Linked DNA regions of Homo sapiens: all the other regions are linked to region 5. The links are contacts of gene promoters, found by promoter capture Hi-C in human tissues and cell types (Jung and others, 2019). All regions are on one chromosome and are shown on one strand. The core of a region is centred on a gene start or on the middle of the fragment in contact, and the rest is flanking DNA. Distances in the headings are between cores, read along the strand shown. Region 1 holds the start of POFUT2 (protein O-fucosyltransferase 2). Region 2 overlaps ADARB1 (adenosine deaminase RNA specific B1). Region 3 overlaps POFUT2 (protein O-fucosyltransferase 2). Region 4 overlaps TRPM2 (transient receptor potential cation channel subfamily M member 2). Region 5 holds the start of UBE2G2 (ubiquitin conjugating enzyme E2 G2). Region 6 holds the start of TRPM2 (transient receptor potential cation channel subfamily M member 2). Region 7 overlaps ADARB1 (adenosine deaminase RNA specific B1).

Region 1 (3,821 bases), core at 617-3,116, 490 kb before region 5:
AAATTTTGAAATGGCCCCGCAAAGCGGTGTCTTGTGGGGAAATTCATATTCTGTAGACTCCCCTTCCCTTTCCAGCTCTTTTTCTGATCCTGAGGAGACTGGCTGAGAGTCTAGTGCCTTTTGAAGGTCTGAATAGGAAACATTTGCCATGTATTGCCTCTGAGGGCGGACACCTATGAGATTTCATCCACATAATAAGGACCTCGGTCTCCACAGCCCCTTCTCTTAACCCAGACACTCCTTTCTATTGATTCCAAGCCTTCAGATAGTAACTTCTTTCAACCAACTGCCAATCAGAAACATCTTTGAATCCACCTATTACCTGGAGGCCTTTCCACTTGGAGTCGTCCTGACTTTCTGGATCAATCCAATGCACACCTCACATGTACTGACTGATGTCTTATGTCTCCCTGAAATGAATAAAACCAAGCAGTAAAACAACCGCCTTGGGCCAAGTTCTCAGGACGTCCTGAGGCTGTGTCATGGGTCATATTTGGCTCAGAATAAATCTCTTCAAGTATTTTACAAAGTTTGGCTTTTTTTGTAAACAATAGGCAGATATAAATTCCATTTGCTAATTTTTTTAAATGCTGTGTCTTGGTTCATGAAAGACATTGGTCTGTGGTTCTACTGTCTGGTGATGTCTGACTTTGCTATCAAGGCAATGCTGGCCCATACATCGAGCAGGGAAGTGCCCCTCCTCGTCCATCGTCTGAGTGGCTGGATTCCTATTATTTCTTCTCTAAGTAGGATTCACCAGCTTGGCCCTCTGGGCCTGGAATTTTCTGTGTGAGAAAATTTGATAACAAATTGATCTCAAATTTAACAGATAATAAGCATTAGTATTTTCTTTTTTGGTAACTGGCATCCTTCAAGAAATTCGTCCAATTATACCGTTTTGGGGGCTGCCTGCACTAGAGTCAGCGTGGCGTCCCCTCAGAAGGCCGGGTTTGCCAGCGCCGCGCCCCAAGCCAGGTCGGTCGGCCAGTGCTGGTGCCCTCGGGGAACAGCGGGAGCTGCCTGGAGGCTGCGGGGAGCGGCGGCGGCGGGCACGCACCTGGCTCCCGAAACCAGACCTTTAATAACGCCTCGCAGAAGGGGCGGGGTGGGAGGTTGGCAGCGCAGGGGCGGCAGCCCCGGATCCCCCCAGGTCTCCAGATCACCCCATCGAGCCCCGCGCCCTAGCAGCACAGTCCCTCCAGGGCTCCTTGGAGGGCCAGGCCTCAGCCCGGGTGCCCCCTCGCCGGGGCTCCAGGGTTGGGGGCACCCAGGAGGCCGCAGGTGTGGAGCTCGACGGCGCCCCCCGACTAGAAACCCAGGCTCTCATGCGCGGCTCCCGCCCCGACCCCAGCTCCAGAGGGGCGAGAGCACCCGGCGCCGACCCCGTCTACGGACCCCCTCCTCCGCCCCGCCCCCGCCGTCCAGCCCTCCCGCCCCTACCAGCCCCGGGCCTCCTCCCCACGGACCCGCCCCGCGCCACCAGCCGTCAGCCCTCCCGGCCCCCAGTCTCGCGTACCCTCCCCACTGGCCTGCAGGGTCCACCGACTTCCCGACCCCGGGACCTCCCGACCCCCGGACCTCCCGGCCTCGCGGACCCTCAGGAGCCCCTGCGTGGGCTGCGCCAGGGCGCCCGCGACAGCACCGCCGCGAACCACAGCCACGGCCTCCGGGTCTGCAATGGAACCTCTAGCCGCTGCGGTCAGGAGGGCGGAGACTCTGCGCACGCGCAGTTCCCCCTCCCGCCCCTGCTTGCCGGTGATGGCGCATAACGCATGCGCGGGGAGGGCGGAGCTGGGCGTTGCCGTGGCTACTGGGAACGCATTTCACGGGGGCGGGGCGTGGTTCCGGGGCGGGGCGCGGCCGCCGGAAGTGCGTGGCCGCCCGGGGCCATGGCGACACTCAGCTTCGTCTTCCTGCTGCTGGGGGCAGTGTCCTGGCCTCCGGCTTCTGCCTCCGGCCAGGAGTTCTGGCCCGGACAATCGGCGGCCGATATTCTGTCGGGGGCGGCTTCCCGCAGACGGTAAACGCGCGTCCACGGTGCCAACGCTGGGGTTCCAGGACCGGGCAGGGTCAGAGGATGGGATGGGGGCGGGGCGGGGTCAGGGGCCAGGGAGATGGGATGGGGTCAGGGGCAGGCCCACGGGATGGAGGGTGGTCCGGGGCCAGGGAGATGGAATGGAGCGGAGTTATGGGGCAGGGGCCAGGGGGATGGGATGGAGCGGGGTCAGGGGGCAGGGGTCAGGGGAATGGGATGGGGTCAGGGTTCTGGGGCAAGGAATGTGGCGGAGTAAGGGGCCAGGGTGATGGTATAGGGGCAGGGGGCAGGGGCCAGGAGGGATGGGATGGGGGCGGGGCAGGGATCAGGGCGATGGGATGGGATGGGGGCGGGGCAGGGGCCAGGGTGATGGGATGGGATGGGGGCGGGGCAGGGGCTAGGGCCAGGAGGGGTGGGATGGGATGGGGGCAGGAACGGGGGCCCGAGGGATGGGATGGGGGCGGGGCGGGAGCCGGGGCCAAGAAGGATGGGACGGGGACGGGACAGGGGCAGGGGCAGGGGCAGGGGCCGGGGCCGGGCTGGAGTCTGGGGGATGGGATGGGGCGGGGGCTGGGGGCAGGGTCGGGCCAGCGGGTTGGCTGTAGTCGAGGCTGCGTCACTGCGGCCCGGGTCTGCAGGCGGGGTCGTCTGCGAGGCCCGGGGCGCAGCCTCGGGAGCCCAGGAAGGGGGCCGGGTTGCTCAGGCTGAGCGTGGGCTGGCTCCGGAGGCCCCTGCAAGTGACACGGGTCCAGGCCTGGGTGTGCGGAGCCGGGAGTCAGTGCCGGGCGGGCGCTCCGCAGTGAATTCTCAGGGCCAAGACGAGCTTCGCGGCCGCCCTGTGGCTGTGGGATCTCCAAGCGGACCCCGGGAGGGGCCTGGACGCAGAGGTGTGCACGGCCCCTCGTGGCGTTCGCAGGCCTGGGCGCTGCACGCAGCTTCACTCGCGACGATGGGAGTATGGAAAACCAGCGCAGAGCAGGGAAAGGAGAGCGCCAGGGACAGGGTTTCTGTAGCCCTTGGGGACTTGTCTGTGCCTTGGGGACTTGTCTGTGCCTTGGGGCGCTTTGTGTCCTTCCTCTAGGGCAGTGATCTTAAAGTGTGTCCTGGATCTCTGAGCTTTTGTAGCCGTTTTAATAGTAGTACCAGAGTATTATACGCCTTTTTCACTTCTCATGAATGCACTGTGGAGTTTTCCTAGAAACCACTTGATCTGTGATGTCACAACAGATTGAATGCAGAAACGGGTATGGGAATCCAGCTGTCACCAAACCCAAAAGAGATTTGCAAAAATTAAGAACATCATCACAGTTCTTCTAATTCATTTTTTAAAATACACTTATTTTTTATTTAAATATGTGGTTTTTGTTAACATGTAATGGCTTCTTATTTTTAGCTGAATTAAATACTTGTAGCTTTAACGTCTAACATAGGACGTATCAATAGACATAGTGCACATAACCAGCCGTCAGTCATTGTTTCCAGTGTAAAGGGGTCTTTAAACCAAACAGTTTGAGAACCATGTGGGTACTGATTCTTGGGTTCCAGTCACTGGGATTCCTCTGCCTTAGTGTTGAACTATTGCTAATTGTTAAAACGATGTTAGCATGTCTGCTGCTTCTGCTTACAGGCTCCGTAAGTAACTGGTCATAGAGAAACAGGCCACTCACTGCCTTCACAAACTAGGAACCATTGTTAAGTGCCTAGAGTCGGGCCACGCGCTGAGACTTGTGAGCAGTCGGGTTTTCCGTGCAGAAACCTCAGCATTTGAGACCTGTGGTCCTCCTTC
Region 2 (4,125 bases), core at 1,500-3,999, 300 kb before region 5:
CAGAAAGGCCCCACAGACCCCACACCCATTTTCTATTATTAAGATCTTACATGAGCATGGTTTAATACAGGAGTCCCAACCCCTGGGCCATGGACAAGTAACAGTCCATGACCTGTTAGGAACTGGGCTTCAGAGAATCAGTTCTTGCACTGATTCTGTCAGATCAGTGGCAGCATTAGATTCTCACAGGACTGGAACCCTATTGTGAACTGCGCATGTGAGGGGTCTAGGTTGCACATTCCTTATAAGAATCCAATGTCTGATGATCTGCCACTGTCTCCCCTTACCCCCGATGGGACCATCTAGTTGCAGGAAAACAAGCTCAGGGCTCCCACTGATTCTACATGATGCTGAGTTGTATGATTATTTCATTATATATTACAATGTAATCATGGAAAGAAAATGCACAATAAATGTAACGCGCTGGAATCATCCCCAAACCATTCTCCCAGCCCCCACCTCGGCCCATGGAAAAATTGTCACCAGTCCCTGGTGCCAAAAAGGTTGAGGACTGCTGGTTTAACGGACCAGTATTAATTAACACATTGTTATTAACTGAAATCCACACTTTCGTCAGATTCAGTCGTCCAGGATCCCACGTGACATTGAGATGTCATGGCTCCCTAGGCCCCTCTTGGCTGTGAGTTTCTCAGACTCTTCTTGGTTTTTGACTGTTGAGGAAGCTGTCCCTCAGCTGGGATCTGTCTGATGTTTTTCTCATGGTACAGGAAGGGACTGAGTTTGGGGATGAAGCCCCCAGAGGTGAAGGCCCACTGTCACTCCACTGTATCAGGCACACCCTGTCACCGTGACTGACCACTGTGAGGCTGACCTGGCCCCTGCTGGGTTGAGCCCCCCGCCCCACTTCCATGCTGTCCTCTCTGGAAGGAAGTTGCTCTGCACAGCCCTTGCCTTGGGGTAAGGGTTGTGCTCCACCTCCTGGAAGACACAGCAGATACAGCAGATGCAGAGATGATCTGGAATTGTGCTGGAAAAGGAGCTTTGTCTTTTCTCCTCATTTATCAGTCATTTATTTATGTCAGTCTGGACTCATGGATATTTATTTATCTCTGGGCTATAATCCAATACTACTTTGTTTTGTTGTAGAAACTGTTCCAGCTTTGGCCACTGGGAGCTCTTTCAGTTGGCTCCTGGGTCCCTTTGACACCACCCATTGATGTGGGTGTGGTTATGTTTGTTTCTCGGCATTTCCTTGCCATTTCCTTGGCATTCCTGGCACTTGTGTTATTTCCTGCCCAGTCCTAGAATCAGCTATTTCTCCAATAAAGAATGCTCACTCTATTTTTTATATGCTGTTTTATGGAACATGCAGCTACATGTTTAAAAAATATAGTTGTGGTTACAGCTGGTTTTGCTGACTTGAATCCATCCCCTTCTTTCTGACAACAGCACCCCAAATGTGCTGAGGAAAGTGCCTTCTCCCATTGAACTGCCTGCGTAATTACTTCCAAGAAATCAAAAATTATTTTAAACCCTTGTGCTGATAACAGACAGACACCAAGGTAAGGAAGATAATTATAGAAATTCTGATTTAGAATTAAAATAAGCACATTGGCCAGGCATGGTGGCTCACATCTGTAATCCCAGCAACTTGGGAGGCCGAAGAGGGAGGATCGCTTGACGCCAGGAGTTCAAGTCTAGCCTGGGCAACACAGCAAGACTCCGTCTCTACAAAAAATAAAAAAAGTTAGCTGGGTGTGGTAGTGCGCCTGTAGCCCCACAGTCCCAGCTACTCAGGAGGCTGAGGTGGGAGGATCACTTGAGCCTGGAAGTTGAGGCTGCAGTGAACCATGATTACCACTGCACTCCAGCCTGAGTAACAGAGTGAGACCCTGTCCCAAATAAATAAATAAGCACAAAATATGTTCACTTTAAAATAAACCATGTCTGGCAAAAGTATGTCCACCACTGTAACTACTGACCCCTTACACAATTTTAAGCAGCACTCATCTCCCACGTAATAGTCAGCAAGACTGGTGTGCTAACATACCCAGCATTCAAAAACTCCAAAAGCTTGTGTATTAAGTATACACTATCCAGAAAATTTCACATGCTTTCTGCTTCAGGAAAGAAATATTAAAGCTCTACGATGGTGAAGTTCATTACAATTTCCAAAAGCAAAAGGATCACTGATTACTTAAGAAGCAACGCTTCCTTTAAACTCCAGTACAGGAGGTAAATGTTAAACGCTAGCAAATCTTTTGAGAAGCATTAAAAAAGGTTTTCGTTACATCACAGGTATACTTAATCATAACGTCAAAGCCTCTAAAACAAAAACTCTGTGCACGCACTTCAGGAGTTTTTCCCACGTGCCGCGAAAGAAGGGAGCCTAGGTGTCTGGAGAGATCCTCTGCACCCAGCACTCGGCGACTGGCAGCGGGCATTTCAGCACCTGCTAAAGCCCGCTGGGCAGCTTGGCAGCGCCAGGCGCGGGGCTGCGGGGACACGGCCCGCCCGCGCGCAGGGCACAGCGAGCACGTGAGCGCAGAGCCAGCTCCGGAGCGCTACGGCGCGCGTGGCGGCACACCTGCTCCCCGAGGCTGATCGTTAACAGCCGTGGGCAGGGGTTGGGCCAGGGTACAGCTGTCAGGACCTCACTGGACAGGACCGGAGAGGACCCCGCGTAACCGCGGAACAGACACTCCCGGCAGCGGCCGCCGCCGCGGCACTGCTACGGGACGAGCCGGAGCGCTTGGCCATGGCGGCCCGATCCGCACTGGCGCTGCTGCTGCTGCTGCCAGTCCTGCTCCTGCCGGTGCAGAGCCGCTCAGAGCCCGAGACCACCGCGCCCACCCCTACCCCAATCCCGGGTGGCAACTCGTCAGTGAGCAGGCCCCTGCCCAGCATCGAGCTCCACGCCTGCGGCCCATACCCCAAACCAGGCCTGCTCATCCTGCTGGCCCCGCTGGCCCTGTGGCCCATTCTCCTGTAGGGACGCCCAGCCAGCCACCTCTAAGTCGCCGCTGGGACTGGCCTGCCCCATTGAGCAACAGAGACGCTTGACAGCCGCCCGCCTCCATTCCTTGACTTCACCCAGAAATGGGTCCAGAAAACTGAATCCCACCAGCACTGGTTTGGAGCAACCGGACACCGAGGTTTCACCTCCAGGGATTCCATGAAGAGCCTCAATGGAGATGCCACATCCTACTGAGTTAAAGATGGGCTGAGGAACTTGGGTACCCACAAGTCTGCCTTGGGAATCAAAAGAAAATATTTACCTTTAGTTTGGTTCATTAAATGCATGAAGTCAAAATATGACCAGGTAGTGTGCGAGGCCTCCTTGTTCTGGGTAGAGCTGGGAAGGGCAGGGATGGCAAGCGCTCCCTAAGTCTGCCACCTGTAGCCTTGCAGAGTTCTCTAGGAAATGCACTGCTGCTCTGGTGTTCAGTGCAATGCAGTATTTGACTTGGGAACAGTGACTGACGGGGGCCAGTGCAAGCCTAGTTAGTAAGCCCAGCCTGTCTACTCCACTCTCACCCACACATCCCCATTCTTCCAAAGAACCTTGTAGCTATCATTTCAACCTAGTTCCAAAGAGCAGACATACATAATCTCACATAACCTGCAATGCTGCTTTTTAAATTTCTGTATATGTTGAATAATTTTTACAAGTTAAAAGTGACCTTTTTAAACATATATTTTTAAATCTTTAACACGGGGGGAGAAAAAGGAAAGTTTTGGAAAGGGAAGACTAGAAGCTTGGCTGGTTCAGTTCACACAAGTTTTACACTATTTCTATCCATGTGTTATCTTTATAAATCCACATTTGGAATACTTCCCATATAAATATCTTTAGATAGAAACTGAGACTAAGCCTTGAGTAGCTTCTGGAAAGTAACCCCAACACCACCACCAAGTTGCACACACACCAATGTCCAGCATCTAGGAGGGCTTCAGGGCCCCCACAGCCCAAGACGTGCCAGCCCAAGAGAGCACTCCCAGAAACTCCAGATCCAGCCAGCCTCAGAACAGCATGTGAACACTTCACACGGGCTTACTGTGCATGTTTTGGATTGAGCCTTGTGTTCAGTAATTATGCTTGGATTTACATAACTTAAAATGACATATTTTAACATAAATTGTAAATTTTTATTTTTTATTTTT
Region 3 (4,067 bases), core at 1,206-3,705, 470 kb before region 5:
ATGTTGTTTATCTTTTCAGAGAACCAGCTTATTGTTTCATTTAACTTTTGTATTTTTTTGTCTGTTCATTTCAATTTCATTTAGTTCTGCTCTCATCTTGGTGGTTTTCTTCTGCTGGGTTTGGGTTTGTCCTTGTTTCTCTCATTCCTTGAGGTATGACCTTAGATTGTCTGTGCTCTTTCAGATTTTTTGATGTAAGCATTTAATGCTGTGAATTTTCCTCTTGGCACCACTTTTGCTGTGTCCCAGGGGTTTTGATAAGTTATGTCAGTGTTATTGTTCAGTTCAAAGAATTTTTAAATTTCCATCTTAATTTCATTGTTGACCCAAAGATCAGGAGCAGATTATTTAATTTCCATGTGTTTGTATAGTTTTGAGGGTTCCTTTTGGATTTAATTTCCAGTTTTACTCCACTGTGGTCTGAGAGGGTACTTGACATAATTTTGATTTTCTTAAATTTATTGAGGCTTGTTTTGTGGCCAATCATATGGTTTATCTTGGATAACGTTCCATATGCTTACGAACAGAATGTATATTCTGCAGCTGTTGCGTAGAATGTTCTGTAAATATTTTAGTCCACTTGTTCCAGGGTATAGTTTGAGTCTATTGTTTCTTTGTTGGCTTTCTGTCTTGATGACCTGTCCAGTGCTGTCAGTGGAGTATTGAAGTCCCCACTTATGTTGTATTGCTGTCTATCTCATTTTTTAGGTCTAGTAGTAATTGTTTTATAAATTTGGTAGCTCCAGTGTTAGGTGCATGTATAATTAGGATTGTGGCATTCTCCCGTTGGACTGATCCTTTTATCATTATATAATGTTCCTCCATCTTTTTTAACTGTTGTTGCTTTAAAGTCTGTTTTGTCTGATATAAGAATACTACTGTACTCGCTTTTGGTGTCCATTTGCATGGAGTATCTTTTTCCACCCCTTTACCTTAAGTTTGTGTGAGTCCTTATGTGTTAGGTCAGTCTCTTGAAGACTTTTGCCTCACAGCTTTCAGGTGGATTTTTTTCCATTCTGCCATTCTGTTTCTCTTAAGTGGAGTCTCTAAGCCATTTACATTCAACTTTGGTATTGAGGTGTGAGGTACTGTATTCTATTCATCATACTAGTTGCTGCCTGAATACTCTGTTTTCTTTCTTTTTCATTGCGTTGTTTTATATGCCCTGTGAGATTTATGCTTTAAGAAGGTTCTATTTTGGCGTATTTTGAGGTTTTGTTTCAAGATTTAGAACTTCTTTAACATTTCTTGTAGAGCTGGCTTTGGGAGTGGTGAATTCTCTCAGCATTTGTTTGTCTGAAAAAGATGATCTCTCCTTCATTTATGAAGCTTAGTTTTGCTGGATATAAAATTCTTGGCTGATAATTACTTTGTTTGTGGAGGCTGAAGATAGGACCCCAGTCCCTTGTAGCTTGTAGGTTTCTGCTGAGAAATCTGCTGTGAATCTGATAGGTTTTCCTTTATAGGTTACCTGGTGCTTTTGGCTCACAGCTCTTAAGATTCTTTCCTTCATCTTGACTTTAGATAACCTGATGACTGTGTGCCTAGGAGATGATCTTTTTGTGATGAATTGCCCAGGTATTCTTTGAGCTTCCTGTATTTGGATGTCTAGATCTCTAGCAAGACCAGGTAAGTTTTCCTCAATTATTCCCTCAAATAAGTTTTCCAAACTTTTAGATTACTCTTCTTCCTCAGGAACACCAATTATCCTTAGGTTTGGTTGTTTAACATAATTCCAAATTTCTTGGAGGCTTTGTTCATTTTTTTTACTATTCTTTTTTCTTGTTTGTTGGATTGGGCTAATTTGAAAACCTTGTCTTCGAGCTCTGAAGCTCTTTCTTCTCCTGTTCTAGTCTATTATTGAAACTTTCCAGTGTATTTCGTTTCTTTAAGTGTGTCTTTCATTTCCAGAAGTTGCAATTGTTTTTCCTTTAAGATACCTAGTTATCTGGAGCATTTTTCATCCATATTGTTGTTGTTGTTTTTTTTTTAATTTCTTTAAGTTGGTTTTCACCTTTGTCTGGTATGTCCTTGAGTAGCTTAATAATGAACCTTCGGAATTCTTTATCTGGCAATTGAGAGATTTCTTCCTGGTTTGGATCCATTGCTGGGGAGCTACTATGATCTTTTGGGGGTACTATAGAACCTTGTTTTGTCATATTATCACAATTGCTTTTCTGCCTGCTTCTCATTTGGGCAGACTACTTCAGTGGAAAGATCTGGAACTCACGGGCTACTGTTCAGATTCTTTTATCCCACGGGGTGCTCTGTGGCGCTCTTCGCCTTCCCCTAGGGATGGGGCTCCCTGAGAGCTGGGCTGCAGTGATTGTTATTGCTCTTCTGGGTCTAGCCACCCAGTGGGGCTACCAGGCCCTGGGATGCTGCTGGGGAATGTCTGCGGAGAGTCCTGTGCTGTGATCCGTCTTCGGGTCTCCCAGCCATGGGTTCCAGCACCTGCTCTGCTGGAGGTGGCGGGGGAGTGAAGTGGACTCTGGGGGGGTCCTTGGTTGTAGTTTTGTTGAGTGCACTGGCTTTCTCGAATGCTGGTTATGCTGCAGTGAAGTTGTCACGTGGACAGACTCGGGACCTGTGGACAGCCAGGAGGTTGCAGGTGGTGGGATTAGCTGTTGCTTTCTCCTTCCTTGGAGCAGGGTTGTTGGTTAGAATTTGCTGTAGCCATTTGCGTTGGTGGCCTCCAGCCAGGAGGTGGCACTGTCAAGAGGGCAGCAGAGCATTCTGGCTCCCGGGGAGTTTGCAGCTGTGAGCTGCTTTGTCCACAGGATCCGTGAACTCTTTGTGGCACGTCCCTGCGGTGGTTCTCGGAGGAAAAGTTCACAGCGTGAGCCTCCACATGCTGTTCTCTTTTTAAATATTTTTCTTTACCTCAGATAAAATGATTTCTGGTAATTAATACTGCTTCACTGTCTTCTTAGAAAGACATCTGGTCGCCCCCGAGATTCCACCTGAATCCCTTAGACAGCCCTGGAGCCACCCCGTGGAGGAGGCCACATGGAAAGGGTCATCCCTCTGCGTCTCGAGTCCCACCCGGTGCCCAGGATGAGCCCCGAGCCCGCCTGTCAGCTTCTGCATTTCCTTGTGGTTCTTTGCTAGGTCAAGCTGGGCTCCGCGCTAGGGGGCCCCTACCTGGGAGTCCACCTGAGAAGAAAAGATTTCATCTGGGGTCACAGACAGGATGTACCCAGTCTGGAAGGGGCCGTGAGGAAGATCCGCAGCCTCATGAAGACCCACCGGCTGGACAAGGTGTTTGTGGCCACAGATGCCGTCAGAAAGGGTATGGAGCTTCAATGCTTTCGTTTCTTTCCTTTCTTTTAATTTATTTTTTTTATTGATAATTCTTGGGTGTTTCTCACAGACGGGGATTTTGGCAGGGTCATGGAACAATAGTGGAGGGAAGGTCAGCAGATAAACAAGTGAACAAAGGTCTCTGGTTTTCCTAGGCAGAGGACCCTGCGGCCTTCCGCAGTGTTTGTGTCCCTGATTACTTGAGATTAGGGATTGGTGATGACTCTTAACGAGCATGCTGCCTTCAAGCGTCTGTTTAACAAAGCACATCTTGTACCGCCCTTAATCCATTTAACCCTGAGTGGACACAGCACATGTTTCAGAGAGCACAGGGTTGGGGGTAAGGTCACAGATCAACAGGATCCCAAGGCAGAAGAATTTTTCTTAGTGCAGAACAAAATGAAAAGTCTCCCATGTCTACTTCTTTCTACACAGACACGGCAACCATCCGATTTCTCAATCTTTTCCCCACCTTTCCCGCCTTTCTATTCCACAAAGCCGCCATTGTCATCCTGGCCTGTTCTCAATGAGCTGTTGGGTACCCCTCCCAGACGGGGTGGTGGCCGGGCAGAGGGGCTCTTCACTTCCCAGTAGGGGCGGCCGGGCAGAGGCGCCCCTCACCTCCCGGACGGGGCGGCTGGCCGGGCGGGGGGCTGACCCCCCCACCTCCCTCCCAGACGGGGCGGCTGGCCGGGCAGAGGGGCTCTTCACTTCCCAGTAGGGGCGGCCGGGCAGAGGCGCCCCTCACCTCCCGGACGGGGCGG
Region 4 (4,249 bases), core at 879-3,378, 420 kb after region 5:
GGGTCCTCACCGCTCCGATGCTTTCTGAAATGGAGAATTCTCCAAGGCCAGCTAAGGGCAGAGCTGGCTAACACTACTCCGAGATCCACTGAAAGCACTTATTAGTTTCGTGGCGTCCCCTGCTCTGGGGGAAGAGGGAGCTGCCCCAACACACTGGGGGCTGCACACCTGGCACCTCTCAGGCCTCAGCTCCAGCAGAATCAAAGACTCCCAGCATTTTTGCCCATGGACCTGCAGACGTGAGGGCCTCGCAGCAAAGGGGACGCTGCATGGACCTGGAGTTACCGACCTCATAAAAGCCCACAGTAAGAGCAGAGCCATGAGGAGGGCACCTGGGCTCCAGGGTGTGCTGGACTTCGGGAAGGGACTGGACACAAAGCTGTCTGGCAGGAAGGACTCTGCCGTGTGCATGAGCATCGGCCTGGGGTAAGGAGGCGGGTGCAGCCGCCCCAGCAGAAGAGCCGTGAAGGGTACTCGGCACGCATAGGGAGTGAGGACCCAGTGCTCTATGGATTCCCATCCAGCCTCAAGCCCCCAAGGCTCTGTTTTGACCTCCTGCAATCATGAAACATAAACGGGACATTGCCTGTGATCCCATCCTTCACAAAAGCCCATACTCTTGCTCCAGATCCTCAGGCTATATGTCCTCGTACATTCCTACAGCAGGTGAGGTCACCTCGCACCCTGCACGCCACAAAGCAGTTAGGGTTAGGGTCGGGAAGGAAGGCCGGCAGAGCAGCGCATTCAAGCTGCCTGCCAAATCTGCAGTCACACAGCTGCTGGCACCACGGATCTGGGATGGGGGCCACAGCCCTGTACTTTGAAAAATGCTTCCTGGAGGAATCTTGGGGGCAGAGTTGTAGAAACCCCCCAGCCTCCCCAGCAGGTCCTGGGAGCAGAGGCGCCCCACTCACTCCAGGCCCTGGGGCCCCACCCTTTCCTTCCACGCCGGTCAATGGCCCAGTCATAGCCAAGCCCAGCCTCCTCCTCCAGGCACCTTCCTCCGACCCGTCCTCCACCCACCCAGAAGCAGCCCCGACACAGCGTAGATGCTCTTTCTCTTCTTCTGGTGGGAAAGCTCATCGCCCTCTTGCCAACAGTCTTGAGTTCTGAGACAAGCACTTTTGGACAGTCATCTGCCTGCAGCAGGACGGGCCCACACATGCCCCCTCCCACCTGGCCATACTCACGTGCAACGTGCCCGGGCCGCCCTCCAGCACCACGCACACGATGGGGATCTTGATGGCCACACCTAGAAAAAGCACACAGCCGAGTGAGGGCCACACCTAAACAAAGCACGGAGCCGAGTGAGGGCCACACCTGAACAAAGCATGGAGCCGAGTGAGGGGACAGAGGTGGGGGGCAAGACCCTGCACTGAGGGCACTCTCCCCTGCCCCCTGCTGGCTCCAGCCTAACCACACACTGAAGCACCTGCTGGGAGGCCTCTTGCCAGTGCTGAGTCGCCGTTTAAAGTCAAAGCTCCACATTCCCAGGGGACCTGCCTGTTCCACATCAATGAGCAGACTCAAGAGCCCCCCGCCACCCACACTTCCCCGCTCGCTTGCTTCCCATCCACCCCTGCCTGCTTTCTTGGGAGGGAGGGAGAGGGGCTATGGACAATCAGAGCTGAGGCCCCAAGCAGGTGGCACAACCTGCCACGCGTGGATGCGAGCAGCATGCGGCACGTCCATCCTGTGTCCATCCGCCCAGCCCCACCCTGAACTTCATCCAGCCCAACAGCAGTGGAGCCTGAGAAGGACTTGGCAACCCCTTTCCCCAGGCAGCAAACTCTGTCTGTGAGCCCCCCATGGGCCCATCGTCTTCACACACTCACCCACACATCCCACCCCAGATGTCCTAGTCAAGCAGGTTCTCAAAGTGTGGTCCCTGAACTGCAGCATCGCCCTCACCAGGGAACGTGCTCCTACTAGTCAAGCAGGTTCTCAAAGTGTGGTCCCTGGTCCCTGAACTGCAGCATCGTCCTCACCAGGGAACGTGCTCCTACTAGTCAAGCAGGGTTCTCAAAGTGTGGTCCCTGGTCCCTGAACTGCAGCATCGCCCTCACCAGGGAACGTGCTCCTAATGCAAGTTCTCAGCCCACCTGGAGCTGCTGAGTTGGACCCTGGGGCTGGGGCCCACAAGCTGGTGAGGAACCCTCCAGGGGAGTTCGATGCACAAGGAACCCTGCAAGGGACCCCAGCCCACCCAGCCACAGGTCAGACACCTCCCGTTCACCATCTCCTCTTTGAACCCTCCTCAAGTGATATGCAAAACCCCGCACTTGACCTCCCGACGTCCTCAAACCCATCCCATCCCACCTATGAGGAAAAAGGTATCAAATCCTAAGTTTTGACTATCGTACATTCTGATTTCTGAACCTGAGAGCAGACCATGATCAAGGTTTAAAATAATTGTAGGGCCAGGCACAGTGGTTCAAGCTTGTAATCCCAGCACTTTGGGAGGGTGATGGGAGGATCCCTTGAGCCCAGAAGTTCGAGGCTACAGTGAGCTGAGATCACACCACTGCGCTCCAGACCCTGTCCCAAAAAAAATGTAGGTTGGCCCATTACCTGCGAGCACACAGGTGAGCTGCCAGCCCCCCAGACCGCCCTCCCACTGGCTAAAATGGGCAAGAGAAGATGACCCTCCTGGAACAAAGTATAAAGAGACACGGGAAAGAAACCCAGGTGTGTTCTGAGGACGTTCCGAGTACCATGAACATCCTGGTTGTGACCAGCTGTACCTGACAGTCTGACCAGCTCACCGCGCTCTCTGCCGAGTGCCACGAATGACCTGTGACCAGCTGTACCTGACACTCTGACCAGCCCACTGCACTCTCTGCCAAACGCCAGGCCTGTTGAACGTCCTGGTCGTGACCAGCTGTACCTGACACTCTGACCAGCCCACTGTGCTCTCTGCCCAATCACCCTCGAAAGCAAGCTCCCCTACCTCCTCTTTCCTTGGTCTGCTCCGATATGAACTTCTCCAGCCTGGTCCTCAGAGGAATCTCCACCCCGTACTGGCCGTGGGTCCCGTCGTCCACGAGGATGAAGTGAGAGTGGTTGCTGTCTAGGCAGGTCAGGTTCCCTTGGCCATCCTCATCCAGTATGTACTCGGCGGGGAAGCTGCCCTGGGATGGCCAGGAAGCGTCAGACACTGCTTCTGGAAAGCTCTGCCTCTCTAACGCGAGCAGGCTGAACACCGGCCCTCACAGAGACCAGGTCCCAGTCCCTGGAATCTGTGGACGTGGCCTTATTGGAGAAAGCGACTTTGCACATGTGATCGAAACATGAGATTAACTTGGATGATCCGAGTGGGCCCAAAATACCATCACAGGTGTCCTTACAGGAGAGAGGTGGTGGGGGACACACACAGGAGAGGAGGCCGAGGGACCACAGAGGCAGGGGCAAGTGACATAGCCACAAGTGGAGAAAGCCGGACCCCCCAGGAGTGGAGGAGGCGGGGAAACAGACGTGTGACCCTGACTTCAGAGTTCTGTCCTCCAGACACGTGAGAGACCACAATGCTGCTGTTTCAGGCTTGAGGCCATTTGTTACGGCAGCCACAGGAAACGGATACAGGTCTGGGGTGAGGAAGTGGGCTGCTGCTGCAACAAACACCTAAAAATGTGGAAGTGGCATTGAAACCGGCAATGGGGAGACGACGGGAGGATTTAGAAGCACCATGAATGGAAAACGTCTCAACGTCCTTGAAGAGAATGTTGGTGGGAATGTGGTATTAAAGGCCTTGCGGAGACGGGCGCGGTGGCTCACGCCTGGAATCCCAGCACTTTGGGAGGCCAAGGCGGGAGGATCACCTGAGCCCTGGAGTTCGAGACCAGCCTGGACGACATAGCGGATCTCATGTCTACAAAAATGAAAAAATTAGCCGGGCATGGTGGTGCACACCTGTAGTCCCAGCTACTTGGGAGGCTGAGATGGGAAGATCACTTGAGCCCGGGAGGTCAAGGCTGAGGATCGCACCAACATACTCCAGCCTGGGCAACAGTGAGACCCTGTCTCAGAAAAAAAACAACTCGCAGTAAGGGCTCAGAAGGAAGTGAGGAGCAGGGCAGAGAGGGCTTTGTTGCCCTAGAGCAGGGGTCCCCCACCCCCTGGGCCATGGACTGGTAATGGTCTGTGGCCTGTGAGGATCTGGGCTGCTCACAGCAGGAGGTGGGTGGTGGGTGAACGAGCGAAGCTTCATCCCTATTTACAGCCGCTCCCCATCGTGTGTGTGACTGTCCGA
Region 5 (4,181 bases), core at 412-2,911:
TTTGCACATTGCATTTGCACAAATTACTCTCTGAAACAGTCTCAAAGGACCATGTCATTTTATAAAGCACTGTGGTCATTTGAAAAGATGGAGGTAGACTGAAATTTTGAATTTTGGGGAATTTTCCTACACTATGCATACTTGTGAAGTTTGTATTGTTAAATTTCATTTGATTTGACAAATCCGTGTTAAGAGTATACGATGTCCAGGTACAGAGGCTGCCCCAGAAACAAGACAGAAGTAGGCAGGGACCCATGGCTCTCATGGAACACGCTTTTGGTTAGAGGCAACAGATAAGGGTAATACATTTATAGCATGCCAGTAAGTTCTATAGTACGGTGTGTTGAGTAGGTGTTGCAGAGAAAAAGGTATGCGGTGAAGGCCGGGTGGTGACGGCCTAGGCCACACTGAAGAGGCAACATTTGAGCAAAGACTGAAAGAGCAGGTGGGAAGAGTCGGGGACAAGAGCCGCCAGAAAGTGTTTCCGGGGAGGGAAGAGTCAGGGACTCTGAACCAGGCCAGGGCAGCTGGAGTGGAGTGAGAGGGAGGGAGGGTCTGGGAGTATGGCGGGGTGACCGGAGGCAGAGCAAAGCACTGCAGGACTTCAGCTTTACTGAGTGAAATGGGCGGAGCAGAGTGTGAATGTGATCAGACTTCTTTTCAAGGGATCATCTGCAATGCTGGAAAGGAAAAGACAAATGATAGATTATTGCAACAAACAGCCAGGCAAGAGATGCAAACTTTTTTTGCAAAGGTGTGTGTGTATATACATCCTTGCACCGGACAGCCACGAAGCACCTACTGTGCTGTGAAGTCAGTAAGGATGTGGGTTAAAATCGCTCACCTCACAGCGGGTCAATCGGGAAAGCACACCCACTCACTACAGCCATTATGGGAAAAAGGGCTCGCCCCTTACAGGATCCTCAACTGTGGAGAGGCCGGGAGCCCACGCGGGGCGCTGGGGAGTCTCTCAGCACCCCAGGGGTTCGGGCAGGGACCTGAGCCGCGCCCTCTCTCCCGGGGGTGCCCTGGGGTCGAGGCTGCTCGGCAGAGCCGGCGGTCAGTTCGAGCCGCGGGCCCGAACAGGGCTCTCCCCGCGGCTCTCTCCCTCGGAGTAGAAGGTGCTGGACCCGAACTCCAGCGGAGCCGCACAACACGTGGAGGAAAAGCGCCAGGACAGCTAACCTTCCCACCTTTTCAAACCTGAAACCCGGCCGGCTGGGGACGGTTGGAATGTTCAGTGCGTACCCGCACCTCAGGCCCCTTGTCTCCAGCCCCAGACCGCCCCGCGACCATCCTCCCCACCCCCCGACCTCTTATCTCGTCCCCGCCCTGTCTCCCCAACCTCCATCCTCCCCTCCACAACCCCCGTCCTCCCGCCCTTCGGCCACGCGCGGCTGGCACAGAACAGGCAGTTAGCGCACACACACTGGAACAGGCGCCACCGTTCAGGAAGTCTCTACAAGACCAGGACCCTGAGGCCTCTGGAAGTGCCGGGACCGAACCAACCCCGCAGAGCGACTAAGGCGAGGGCAGGAGCCAAGAGAATCGTAGCCGCGGTCGCGGGTTGAGCTCCCACCACCCGGACAGCGCGCCTCGGCGATCGCGCACGCGCCACGCCCCGGAAGAGTTCCTGGGCCCGCGACGGTGGCCCGGAAGCAGTCCCCGGTGTCGGGGCAGGAGGCACGCGCGCGGCTGAGGCGAGGTCGCTCGGCGCAGCTGTTGCGGGGCCATGGCGGGGACCGCGCTCAAGAGGCTGATGGCCGAGTACAAACGTGAGTCTGGGGACCCGGGCCGTCAGCAGCGTCCCGCGTTCCTGCTCCCGGGCCCGCGTCGTCCGGCGGGGCTGGGGCAGGGAGCCTGGCGGGGGAGCCGGGCCCGGGGCCTCCACCGTGAGCCCCCCTGTGGGTCCCGCGGAGTGCCGCGCCCTGCGCCCGCTGCCCACTCTCACGCGTGAAGTCGTGAAGAGAAGCCTTCCCAGCATCAGTAAAGGCAGCGCCGGCGCCGTGTTAGTTGAGAGCACACACAGTTGAGTCTTTGCGGGCTTGTTTTTTTCTCTTCTATTTTTTCTTTTCTTGGCAGCCTTGAGAACGTGCAGTGAGAGCTTGAGGAAGAAGGCCTGACTTGCTGCTGCGGAATTAGGAGGGAAAAGTGTATGCGTTAAAAGGGGAAAGGCTCGTTGGTGGAGCTTTGAAAGGTCAGATTTTGGCTTTCCCTCTAATGAAGGAAAAGGGTTTTTGAACAGTGCCACCTGTCACTCCTCCTAGGTAGTGTTGAGGAAACCTCTTGAGTGCTTTCCTACCCGGTAAATTAGATATTTCTAATGTCTGAGGAGAGCGAAGGGAGAAATGAGAACCTAGGAACACTCGGCATTCCATCGTTTTACACCGAATGCCCGCTTGGAAGAACTGCTGCGAGAAGTCTTGGAATACCATTGTGTTGAAAGCGCCAGGAGCCTGAGTCGCCGATGGAGACGAGATAGTAGCCGGCTAAGAGCAGGGCCTGAGTTCAGACCCGGCCTCTCTGCTTGTTAGCTCTTTGACCTTGTTCCTCTCTCTGTCTCTGCAGTTTCCTTGTCTTAAAAGGTTAAACTTGATACTGCAGGTGAAGTGCTTAGCAAAATACCTGATGTGTAACCCTTAATAAAGTTAGCTGCTGCTTTTGTAATTAGATTGAGGATAATTTTGGAAGAAAGTTAAGCTAAAAGAATGAATGTGAGAAAAAAAATAAGTGGTGAATATACATGTAGCTTGATTTCGTAAAACTATTGGTGACACCGCCCAGTAAGAGTTGATGTTTGGCTTAAGCAGACCAAAACGTTGCAAATACAGGCTCACTCACGTATGGTCATTCTTCCCTTGGTATCTGGAGGGGATTGGTTCCAGGCCCCGCTGCAGATACCAGAATCCTCGGATGCTCAAGTCCCTACTATAAGGTGGCGTGGTATTTGCATTTAATGTATGCATAGCCTCTCATAACTTTTAAATCATCTCAAGGTTACTTATAGTACCTAATGCAATGTAAGTGCTGCACAAATAGTTACACTGATTTTTTTTACTTGTATTTTTAAATCGTCATTTTTTATTGTTATTTTTTTCAAATATTTTGTATTCCTGGTTGGTCGAATCCATGGATATGCAGCCGCAGATACACAGGGCCTCCTGTAAACGTTCAAATAACGCTCGCCACCTAGTGTCTGCTAAAGCAGAACATAAAGGCACACCTCAGTTTCCCGCGCGCTTTGCTTTATTGAGCTTCACTTCGCAGATCTTGCATTTTTTACAAGTTTACAAGTTTTTTACAAGCAACCCTGCATGGAAGCAAGTCTGTTGGCACCATTTTTGCTCGCTTCGTGTCTCTCTCTTACATTTTAATCTATTACTGTGATCTATGATCAGTAATCTTTGATGTTACTATTGTAATTATTTTGGGGCATCACAAACTATGCCCATAAAAGATGGTAGTCCTAATAAATGTTGTGTGTGCTTCACTGACTGGCTGTTTCCCCATCTCTCTCCCGGCCTCTCTCTTCCCTGAGACAAAACAACATTGAAATTAGGCCAATAGTAACTGTACAGTGGGCTCAAGTGTTGAAGTGAAGAGTTGCACTCTACCCACTTCAAATCAAAAGCTAGAAATGATTAAGTTTAGTGAGGAAGGAATGTTGAAAGTCAAGATAGGCTGAAAGCTGGGTCTCTTGTTAGCCAAGTTGTGAATGCAAAGGAAAAGTTCTTAAAGGAAATTAGAAGTGCTGCTCTGTTGAACACAATGAATGATAAAGTGAAAAAGCCTTACTGCTGATATGGAGAAAGTTTTAGTGGTTTGGATAGAAGATCAAACCAGCCATAACATTCCTTTAAGCCAAAGCCTAATCCAGAGCAAGGTCCTAACTCTTCAGTTTTATGAAGGCTGAGAGCAGTGAGGAAGCTGCAGAAGAAAAATTGGGAGCTAACAGAGGTTGGTTCATGAGATTGAAGTAAATAACCTGTCTCCATAACAGAAAAGCACAAGGTGAAGCAGCAAGGTCTCCAGAAGATCTAGCTAAGATCAAGATGAAAGTGGCTCCTAAATTAAGCAATAGATTTACAAGGTACGTAAAATAGCCTTATACGGTATTGGGAGGAGATGATGCCATATACAACGTAAACAGCTAGAGAGAAGTCAATGACTGGCTTCAAAGG
Region 6 (4,298 bases), core at 1,194-3,693, 450 kb after region 5:
CCAAAAATACAAATTTTTTAAATGCAGTATAACTATTTTTATAACATCTACATTGTATCAGGTATTATAAGTAATCTAGAGATGATTTAAAGTATGCTGAAGGATGTACATAGTTTATATGCAAATACCACACCATCTCATATCAGTGACTTGATATGAGATTTTGGGACTGATACGAGATATGGGATTTTGGTGTCCGTGGGTGTCCGGGAACAATTCCCCAGGGATGCGGAGGGACAGCTGTTGTATTGGTGACCGTGAAACTCTGATGATGTACCGAGTACACTAGAGGTACCCTGGGGCAACACAGTCTTCTTCTATTTCCCAAGCACAGGATGCTTCTCCCTCCCCATATTCAGTAAATATGAGCTGAAGGCCACTCTCTGGGAATTAACACAACACTCTGCTTTCGTCCCAGCCCCCCAGAAGCTCAGCAGCTAGCAAGAAAGATGAACACAAAGCCACACAGTTACAGCACGACAGCTGGGATCAAAGAGAAACACACGGTGCGGTAGGAGGGAAGCTCACTTCCTGGTAGAGGTTGTATAGTCACGGAAGGCTGCACGGCAGAGGCAGCATCTGCAATAGGCCTTGAGGGATAAGTAGGAGCTCACCAGGCAATGGAGTAAAAGGAGGAAGCGTGTGGCCCATTTGTGGAAGAGCATGAAATGGGTGTTGCTCGGGGAGGGCACACAAACATGAATCAACACTCTGTCCGTGCCTAAAGGGGCGCCAACTGCGGGGAGCACCATCGGCTCCGGAGGGCCATATCCAGCCACTCAGAGACAGTGGCCATGTTGCCTGGGCGGGGGTCTTGGCCACACCTGAGTCGTGGGCTCTGTGGGGAGGAGGGGCAAAGGGGGCTCTGTGGGGCCTGGGGGCAAGTCGGGCCTCTGGCTTTGGCAAGCTGTGCAGGGGGGCAGTCTTCTGGCCATGGACTCTCCCTAAGGCCCTTCCAGTTCCTGGACCCTGGGACTCTCTCTCTTGGGGTGGGGGCAGGTGTGGAAATGAGAGGATTAGAGGATGCATCTGTGTTCACACCACTGGGCCTCGCCGCGCGACAGTGCCCTTATGACCCTGAACAAGTCACCTAAACTCTGCACTTTGGTCCCTGCACCTGCGAGGCAGGATGAGGGTCAACTGTCCCCGACAGGAGGCTTGCAAGGGTTAGGTGGAAATGCTCTGTGGACTCTAAGCCTCGTATGGAGACAGAGGTATCTCCAGTGACCCTTCACTGAGGCCCTGAGGGGTCTTGGCCTGATCAGCTACTCCATGTGGGATCGGAAGGAAGAAGTCAGAGGTCTTACACACAAATCACGTCACTTACCCAGCATCAGACAGTTTGGAACTTTCCACAAAATACACGCATTCTTTCTTCTTGATGTTTTCAGGAATCCACGAACTGAGGCTTTCTTGCTGAAGGTAAAGACAGCACACTGAGATCTTCCAACATTCGAAAGAGCACACCCAGCCCCCTGGAGACACATCTGAGCTCCTTGAGGAGCTTTCACACTATTTGCTTGAAGGAAGGAAGCCTGCGCGACCCTGAGCCAAAGATTAGAAGCACCTTGCCAAGACTCTCCGGTGGGGATTCAGGAGGGAGGAATGAATCTAAGAAATCATTTCCTCTTGGGACCATTTTGAATGTGCGCGCACTTTACAGTTTCTACAGCACCACCACCTTCCTTGGGAACAACATGGTGTGGTGGAAAACGTGGAGGCTGGGGATCTGGGGACCTGGATCTTGCACCATCGGAAAAAGGGCAGCCACCCTCCTGCCTGCCTGGCAAGGGGACTGCAAGATGCCATGTGCTTTCAACATACTTGTGTCTTTGTATCCAGGGCTTTGGGGAAAGCTAGCCCAGGCCCAGGCCCTCCCAATCGGATAAAGGATGTGAAATCATTATGCAACAAGGTAAGCACGGGTAACAGATTTCCAGGACTCTAGCGCAACATTTTTGAGTTAACCCGGTGATTTCCCAATCAGACCAACCATGGGAAATGGTCATGCAACCCACAGAAGACGAGACACGCATCACCCTCCCCAGTTCTGTTCTCCCAAAGGTATGGTTGGGCAGGAGCCCCCAAGGTCAGCAGACCCTTTCCCACCCCCGTCGTCACAGCCTCAAGCTATGACCTGCCCAACGGTGACCTCCGTGGCCACGTGCCAACTGCAGGCTGACCAGCAGAAAGCCTACCTTGTCATTGTTGCCGAAGGGGCACTGTAGCCTCCAGCTCTTGAAGAGGCTGCTGTTGCTGCGCCGGAGATTGGAGACCATCCCCAGGTCAGTGACCCTTCTGGGCAGCCCCTCAAAGCCCTCCTCCTGCTCCGAGCCAGCTTTCCTCAGGGCTGAGGGCTCCATTCTGAGACCCCCACGCCAGCTGCAACCAGGCCTGCTGCCCTCAGGACAGTCCTCTCTCCAGCTCGCTACACTGGGGTTCTAGAGACACATGGGGTGGTTGCTGAAATAGATCAGAGACAGGAAGATGAGGCTGATGTTCTGAGAGGACCTGGCCACATGCTTCCTCATGTGAAGCCCTCATCCGGTTCTCTTCATCAGCCTGCACATGTTCCCAGCTGCCTGAGCTGTGTCCCTTGGCTGGGGCCCCCGGACACTCTGGGGGAGTACATGCACATGCGGGGGTCCCAGCGGCCGTTCATAATGGTAACAACCTCAGGTGACTGCAGGGCCAGAGAAAGAGCTCCCTCCCCCACGGGTGCAGCTGCACTGAGCACCGCACAGGGAAGTCTCCACCGCCAGCACCAGCTGCCAGCGACATGGTTTCGCAACTGTACAATTCTGCACAGCTCCTGCTTCCAGACACCAGTGACTACTTTCATATTCCAAAATTTTTTTAAATAGCCCTCACTGTCCACAAAGGAAGTTTCTTTTTCTTCTTGTTTTTTGAGACGGAGTCCCACTTTGTCGCTCAGGCTGGAGTTCAGTGACGCAGTCTCGGCTCACTGCAACCTCGGTCTCCCTGGTTCAAGTGATTCTCCTGCCTTAGCCTCCCCAGTAGCTGGGATTATGGGCGCCAATCACCACACCCTGCTAATTTTTTTTGTATGTAGTAGCAACAGGGTTTCACCATGTTGGTCAGGTTGGTCTCAAACTCCTGACCTCAGGCGATCCACCAGCCTCCGCTTCCCAAAGTGCTGGTTTTACAGGCGTGAGCCACTGTGCCCAGCCTAGAAAGGAAGTTTTGGGGAGTACCACATCTCTCCACTCCAGGAAAAAGACAATAATTCAAATGAATCTTTTTCTCTCATATCCTTTCCCCCTGGCTCTGATGTGGCCTTCATCACCGAGGCCACAAGAAGCCACCGGATGACTGCCCTCCCTTTACAAATGAGAAACATAAGCATGTTCAAGCCCTGCGGGGCCTCCCTGAGTCCCTGACACCCACAGTGTTCTCATGAGGTCATCCATGGTCATCCCCTGCCACTGCCCCAAAGGTGTCAAGGGGAGGGTTGCTGGGATGCAAAAGATCTGACTGGAATCCCCCCTCATCCCTGCCCTGAAACCAGATCTCTGGCCACGTCCTCTCCACTACACACGACGGTCACTGTCAGACAAGCCTTTGCTCTGCCGTCCCCTCATCACATTAGGTGACTGAGCCCCTCTTCGGGGCCACGCAGCTCGAAGCTCGGTGCCGGGCTCTTGGGGCTGAGCTACGGGCTGCTGTCCTGGGGCGGGCACTCTCAGGCAACCCCACCTCCCCCTCTCCCTCCTCCCCTTTGCCCCTTGGCCACACTCATTCCGAGACCCGTAAACTTCACTGGCAGGATGGCAGGGGTGCCCTGCCCGGCCTTTTCCTGCAGTTCTCAGAGCAGATGTTGTGCCGCATGCCAGTGGGGTCTTTCCAGGGCCATGAGCTGTCCCCGCAGCCACTGGCCCGGCTTCACAACCAGCTTCCGAGGGAAGCAGAGGGGCAGAGATGTCCCCAGTGGCAGGAGGAAGAGGAGGCTCTAGAGAGATCGCAGTGGCACCGCAAGGGGACCCAGACTGCAGGTGGCTCCCCAGGCAGGCGGTCCACCCTGCACGGGATGAGGATGGCTCCACGCTGGAAACGAAGACCCCAGCATCAGACGGGAGGGTCCACGGTGTGGGACTCTCTGCCTTAAGACCAGCATGTTCTGTTCACACGCTCATCTTTCAGGCAGCTGTCCACCTCAGCACAGCCCCTGGGGTCTTGTGCAGGTTCCTCTAATCCCAGAGGCAAGCAGGCCCTGGGAAGCAGGTCAGACCTGCTCCAGCACCACCCGACTTTGCAGGAGGCAGCCAGGAGCCCCTGTG
Region 7 (4,066 bases), core at 341-2,840, 320 kb before region 5:
GGCCAAAGACAGCCCTCACCATGGGCTGTGAGATGACCCAAAACCCAATCCTTTCTTTGGCACTTCACCAACAAAATTTCATAGCCTTTCTTTTCTCAGTGCAACTAAGGGCTAGTCCATGGTAACCTACGAAGTGAATTATTACGGGGCACTAAAATTTAAGATTTATAACCTAAACCTGAGGTGTTACTAGGCTTTATAGAGGTCTAGTTCAGTATCAAGAAGGGAGGCTCCTGTGCAGAGCTGCAAAGCTTGGTAATGCGCCCACGTGGGGGCCACAAAGTCCTCATCCTCAGAAACAGCATTTCGTGCGTTACCAATGACAGCTTTATTTATAATGGATTTCAATTACCAACACTCTTGCTTTTATCATTTCGATGTCCATTTTCTCATGTTCACAGCAGTTTAATGTGGGCTGTCTGGGTATATACCACGATGACAATTCATAGTTTCAGGAGCCATGATTTTTCAACAACTTATAAGTACCCTAAGTCATCTCCGTCTTTATTTCGAAACAGATGTATAGAACCTCCTCTAAATTCTGATGCAGCAGTAACATTTTATTTGTTGGTGATGTGCTGATTAAGAGTATATGAAATTTAACTAACTTGCAACACACCATCAAGGCAAGTGTAACAAAGTTACCCAGCTATTTTTAAGTTTATGGCCACACTCTTACATAGTAAAGAACAACACGTCTCATAAGAACTTCTGTATCAAAAGTACCTAAACTGGTTCATTTAATTTCATCCCGATTCTTTGATAATGTTGAGTGATATTTCCACTGGAGAGCAAGAACAGCTACTGGTAAAGGTGACCAAGGCACTAATTTTGCCACTGAGAGTGATCTAAAAAGGCTTTTAGGCTAGGCACAGTGGTGTGCTCAGCACTTTGGGAGGCCAAGGTGGGAGGATGGCTTGAGCCTAGGAGTTCGAGACCAGTCTGGGCAACACGGCAAGACCCCACCTCTACAAAAAATTTAAAAATTAATCAGTCAATGTGGCACGTGACTGTGGTCCAAGCTACTCAAGAGGCTGATAACAGGAGTATTGCTTGAGCCCAGAAGGTGGAGGCTGCAGTGAGCCACGATCACACTACTGCACTTCACCCTGGGTGACAGAGCGAGACCCTGCCTCTAAATTAATTAATTAAAAGGGCTTTTAATTAAAAATGGTGATAAAGTACACCATATCTTCTCTCCATTCTTCCCAGAGCTCTGTTAAAATGTCAGAAAAGGTACTTTTTGGTGGTGAATGAACCATAATAGTGCACGGTGCTAAAAATTTACAGAGGGATTTAGCAGAACACAAGAAAGCCTGCCAGGGCTTTTAGGGCATAAGGCAGACGAAAGCAGGTTGATGCGAGAGAGCAGAGGAAACTGCAGAGCAAGACAACAGAGGTGAGGGGTCTTCCCAAGAAGCAGGAGCCATAGGGAACGCTTTTATTCCTGGGCTGAAACCTGAGAATCGCTCTCCAAAGAAAGCCTGAGGTTTTCTAAGGGGTGATCCCAATATGGGCACGCGGGCTGGAAGAGAAGCAGATCCGGGTTTAGGGTAACGAAAAATCAAACCGTCAGGACATGAAGCCCAGGGAGGGAGAGAAGGAGAGAGTAGAAGATGTTTACCTGCAGTAGAACAAGGATCAAACGGATATCCAACTTCTCATTACCAACACTAGACTCTGGAAAATAATAGAGAATATTTTCTGATTTCAAAAGGAAAATTATACGATCCTAGAATTCTAGACCCTACCAAATTATCAATAAGTATGAGAACAAAGTAATTGCATGTTTGAACATTACGTGCAAAAACCCAAGAAGTCTGTCAGCCATCCATTCTATAAGGAAGTGAATTAAGAAGTCTGTCAGCCATCCATTCTATAAGGAAGTGAATTAAGAAGTCTGTCAGCCATCCATTCTATAAGGAAGTGGATTAAGGAGGTGCTCCAGCAAAACAAAAATAGAATCCAAGAAACCAACACCATGGGATAGGAGAAACCATGGCAACTGAGGCAGCTAGAAACAGCGGACACCTAAAGAGAAACTGGGAGTTCCATCTGAATATTCTCCTTTTATTGGCAAAGGTTTGGTGAGGCAGAATTACATTTCATACCACTTGGTTCTATGGCAAAATATACTATCATAATACTATAAATGTTACTTTTCTTATATTAAAATGTTTAGACTACACTTGCAGGAAAAGCACAGGGAGCCTAATGATAGATGGGAAACACTACAAATGTTTTAAGCCTTGTCAATATAAATCTCATCAAAACTCAGAGTGTGAAGGCACTGTTGACTTCCACATGAACTCACAAACAGAAAAGTTAAAGCTATAATGGTGACTACAAGAAGAACTTAAGAGAAGAAAACACAAACTGTACATTGTTTACCTCTGGAAACGGGGCATGGGGTGGGGAGGGAGAAAGAGGAAATCTCCAACTTAATTTATACCCATTCATGAGCTGCAATGTGTTTTTTACCATGTGCTGGTATTACTTCCATTTTTTAAAATAGTTACATTAAAAGGGCCCCCTTATCAATAGCTGATCCATTAAATAACTGCAGTACATCTATAGGACAGAATAATATGTTCTTGTAACAAGTGAAGTAGCATGAGCATTGCGTTAGTTATATAAAGTCAGAATTTTAAAGAAGCTTTTTTTTTTTTAACTGTGAAAGAACAAAGATAAAGTGTCACAGTCCTACGAAGAGAACGGCACTACCTGTACTGACATGCAGGATGTGACGGGACAGCTGCGTTATAGAGAGATGTGCACAGAAAACCCCTGTGTATCTCAGAAATCCCATATACATAACAGAAACTCCTCATCTATTATATATGCCAGAATCCAGTGCTGACACAAACTAGTGGGTACGTACCCTTCCATATTTTTCCTATGTACACACACACAACATTTTGTAAGCCTAAAAAGCTGGCACAAAAAGCAAACCAACTTCACAAGGACAAGCCAGAGAGTCCTTGGGGGATGTCCTCCCAGGAAACTCAAAACAGCAGCGGCTAGGTCTCCCTGGAGAAGGAGGCTGGGAAGAGCATCTGATAGAACTGCTCCCTTCATCCTTCGAGGGAGCAATCCAGGAAATGCAAGGCTGTCTACTTCACATGGTTTCCTGAGGATATGGGTAGAAAACATTTCCAGTAAAAGCTTTACTAAAATGTTATACAGTGAAAATTAAAATACAAACCATTCCTCCATGCGCCAGTGTCATCTGCTAATTTGTACAACATCTTGTTTCAATGACCTGAGAGGCCTACACAAATAGGTAGAGTAACCACAGTATATCAATTATGCTGAGAAAAGAAAAAAAAAACATATACATGAAAAAAGACACAGATATTGTTTGGCCATGTCCCCACTCAAATCTCATCTTCAATTGTAGTTCCCATAATCCCCACGTGCTGTGGGAGGGACCCAGTGGGAGGTAATTGTATCATGGGGGCAGTTACCCTCATGCTGTTTTCGTGATAGTGAGTGAGTTCTCACGGGATCTGACGGCTTTGTAAGGGGCTTTTCCCCATTTTGCTGGACACTTCTCCTTGCTGTTGCCATGTGAAGAATGATGTGTTTGCTTCCCCTTCCACCATGATTGTAAGTTTCCTGAGGCCTTCTCAGTCATGCTGAACTGTGAGTCTGTTAAACCTTTTTCCTTCATAAATCACCCAGTCTTTGGTATGTCTTTATTAGCAGTATGAGAACACACTAATACAGATACAAAGGAAACATACAAAATAATAACAAAAGTTGCTTCTATGCAAAGGGACTAATATGTCTCTTCCTAGTTTTGCATTTCTGCAAAGTCTGCACAGTCTGTAATAAGCATACTGTTTCTAAATAAAAAATTAAATCTTTCAGAAGAAGCTTGGCAATGTAGAGTTTTCTCCAAAGACTTAGCAGCCGAGGCAAGGGAAGGCACGCAGGGGTGCTGCTGCGCAGCAAGCACAGGCGCAGGCCCTACCCAGGCCAGCCCCACCCTGGGGCTGAAGATGGAGAAAAGGCCAATTCCAAGACTGATCCTGTTCAGAAGACAAAAATGAGCTCAAGCAGC

What was found. Contacts are between HindIII fragments. The study calls those that stand out against the background at their distance.
Region 1: a contact is called between the fragment with the promoter of POFUT2 here and the fragment with the promoter of UBE2G2 in region 5, in 3 of the 25 tissues and cell types used here (dorsolateral prefrontal cortex, liver and lymphoblastoid cells).
Region 2: a fragment that was not itself captured here is called in contact with the fragment with the promoter of UBE2G2 in region 5 in 2 of the 25 tissues and cell types used here (IMR-90 fibroblasts and lymphoblastoid cells).
Region 3: a fragment that was not itself captured here is called in contact with the fragment with the promoter of UBE2G2 in region 5 in 1 of the 25 tissues and cell types used here (lymphoblastoid cells).
Region 4: a fragment that was not itself captured here is called in contact with the fragment with the promoter of UBE2G2 in region 5 in 4 of the 25 tissues and cell types used here (heart right ventricle, lymphoblastoid cells, mesendoderm cells and 1 more).
Region 6: the fragment with the promoter of TRPM2 here is called in contact with the fragment with the promoter of UBE2G2 in region 5 in 5 of the 25 tissues and cell types used here (H1 embryonic stem cells, IMR-90 fibroblasts, dorsolateral prefrontal cortex and 2 more).
Region 7: a contact is called between a fragment that was not itself captured here and the fragment with the promoter of UBE2G2 in region 5, in 3 of the 25 tissues and cell types used here (IMR-90 fibroblasts, lymphoblastoid cells and spleen).

The regions. Positions count from the first base shown.
Region 1 is chr21:45,285,940-45,289,760 of GRCh38, reverse strand. POFUT2 (protein O-fucosyltransferase 2) reads left to right here and starts at 1,866. Exons shown (of 9, transcript NM_133635.6): 1 at 1,866-2,020. The coding sequence starts at 1,890. It overlaps LINC00205 (long intergenic non-protein coding RNA 205), which reads right to left and starts at 1,709. Exons shown (of 3, transcript NR_026943.1): 1 at 1,517-1,709; 2 at 323-410. RefSeq lists an enhancer at 525-1,255 and a silencer at 1,410-1,939. The HindIII fragment of the contact is 23,447 bases long and covers 1-3,821 here.
Region 2 is chr21:45,099,641-45,103,765 of GRCh38, reverse strand. The region is part of intron 1 of ADARB1 (adenosine deaminase RNA specific B1); the gene reads right to left. Among named protein-coding and RNA genes, the nearest start is that of ADARB1, 27 kb to the right of the region's middle. The HindIII fragment of the contact is 4,715 bases long and covers 392-4,125 here.
Region 3 is chr21:45,269,064-45,273,130 of GRCh38, reverse strand. It overlaps POFUT2 (protein O-fucosyltransferase 2), which reads left to right. Exons shown (of 9, transcript NM_133635.6): 7 at 3,112-3,292. Among named protein-coding and RNA genes, the nearest start is that of POFUT2, 17 kb to the left of the region's middle. The HindIII fragment of the contact is 5,405 bases long and covers 1-4,067 here.
Region 4 is chr21:44,374,715-44,378,963 of GRCh38, reverse strand. TRPM2 (transient receptor potential cation channel subfamily M member 2) reads right to left here. Exons shown (of 32, transcript NM_003307.4): 6 at 2,951-3,131; 7 at 1,191-1,252. Among named protein-coding and RNA genes, the nearest start is that of TRPM2, 23 kb to the right of the region's middle. RefSeq lists a silencer at 1-139 and enhancers at 633-1,134, 1,135-1,634. The HindIII fragment of the contact is 6,690 bases long and covers 1-4,249 here.
Region 5 is chr21:44,799,300-44,803,480 of GRCh38, reverse strand. UBE2G2 (ubiquitin conjugating enzyme E2 G2) reads left to right here and starts at 1,661. Exons shown (of 6, transcript NM_003343.6): 1 at 1,661-1,775. The coding sequence starts at 1,733. It overlaps LINC01424 (long intergenic non-protein coding RNA 1424), which reads right to left and starts at 1,240. Exons shown (of 2, transcript NR_109928.1): 1 at 845-1,240. RefSeq lists silencers at 1,043-1,092, 1,593-1,812, 1,873-1,932 and an enhancer at 1,480-2,435. The HindIII fragment of the contact is 9,913 bases long and covers 1-4,181 here.
Region 6 is chr21:44,351,766-44,356,063 of GRCh38, reverse strand. It overlaps TRPM2 (transient receptor potential cation channel subfamily M member 2), which reads right to left and starts at 2,443. Exons shown (of 32, transcript NM_003307.4): 1 at 2,199-2,443; 2 at 1,328-1,416. The coding sequence starts at 2,363. RefSeq lists enhancers at 1,968-2,017, 2,178-2,227. The HindIII fragment of the contact is 21,861 bases long and covers 1-4,298 here.
Region 7 is chr21:45,116,178-45,120,243 of GRCh38, reverse strand. All of the region lies in intron 1 of ADARB1 (adenosine deaminase RNA specific B1), which reads right to left. Among named protein-coding and RNA genes, the nearest start is that of ADARB1, 44 kb to the right of the region's middle. The HindIII fragment of the contact is 3,865 bases long and covers 1-3,522 here.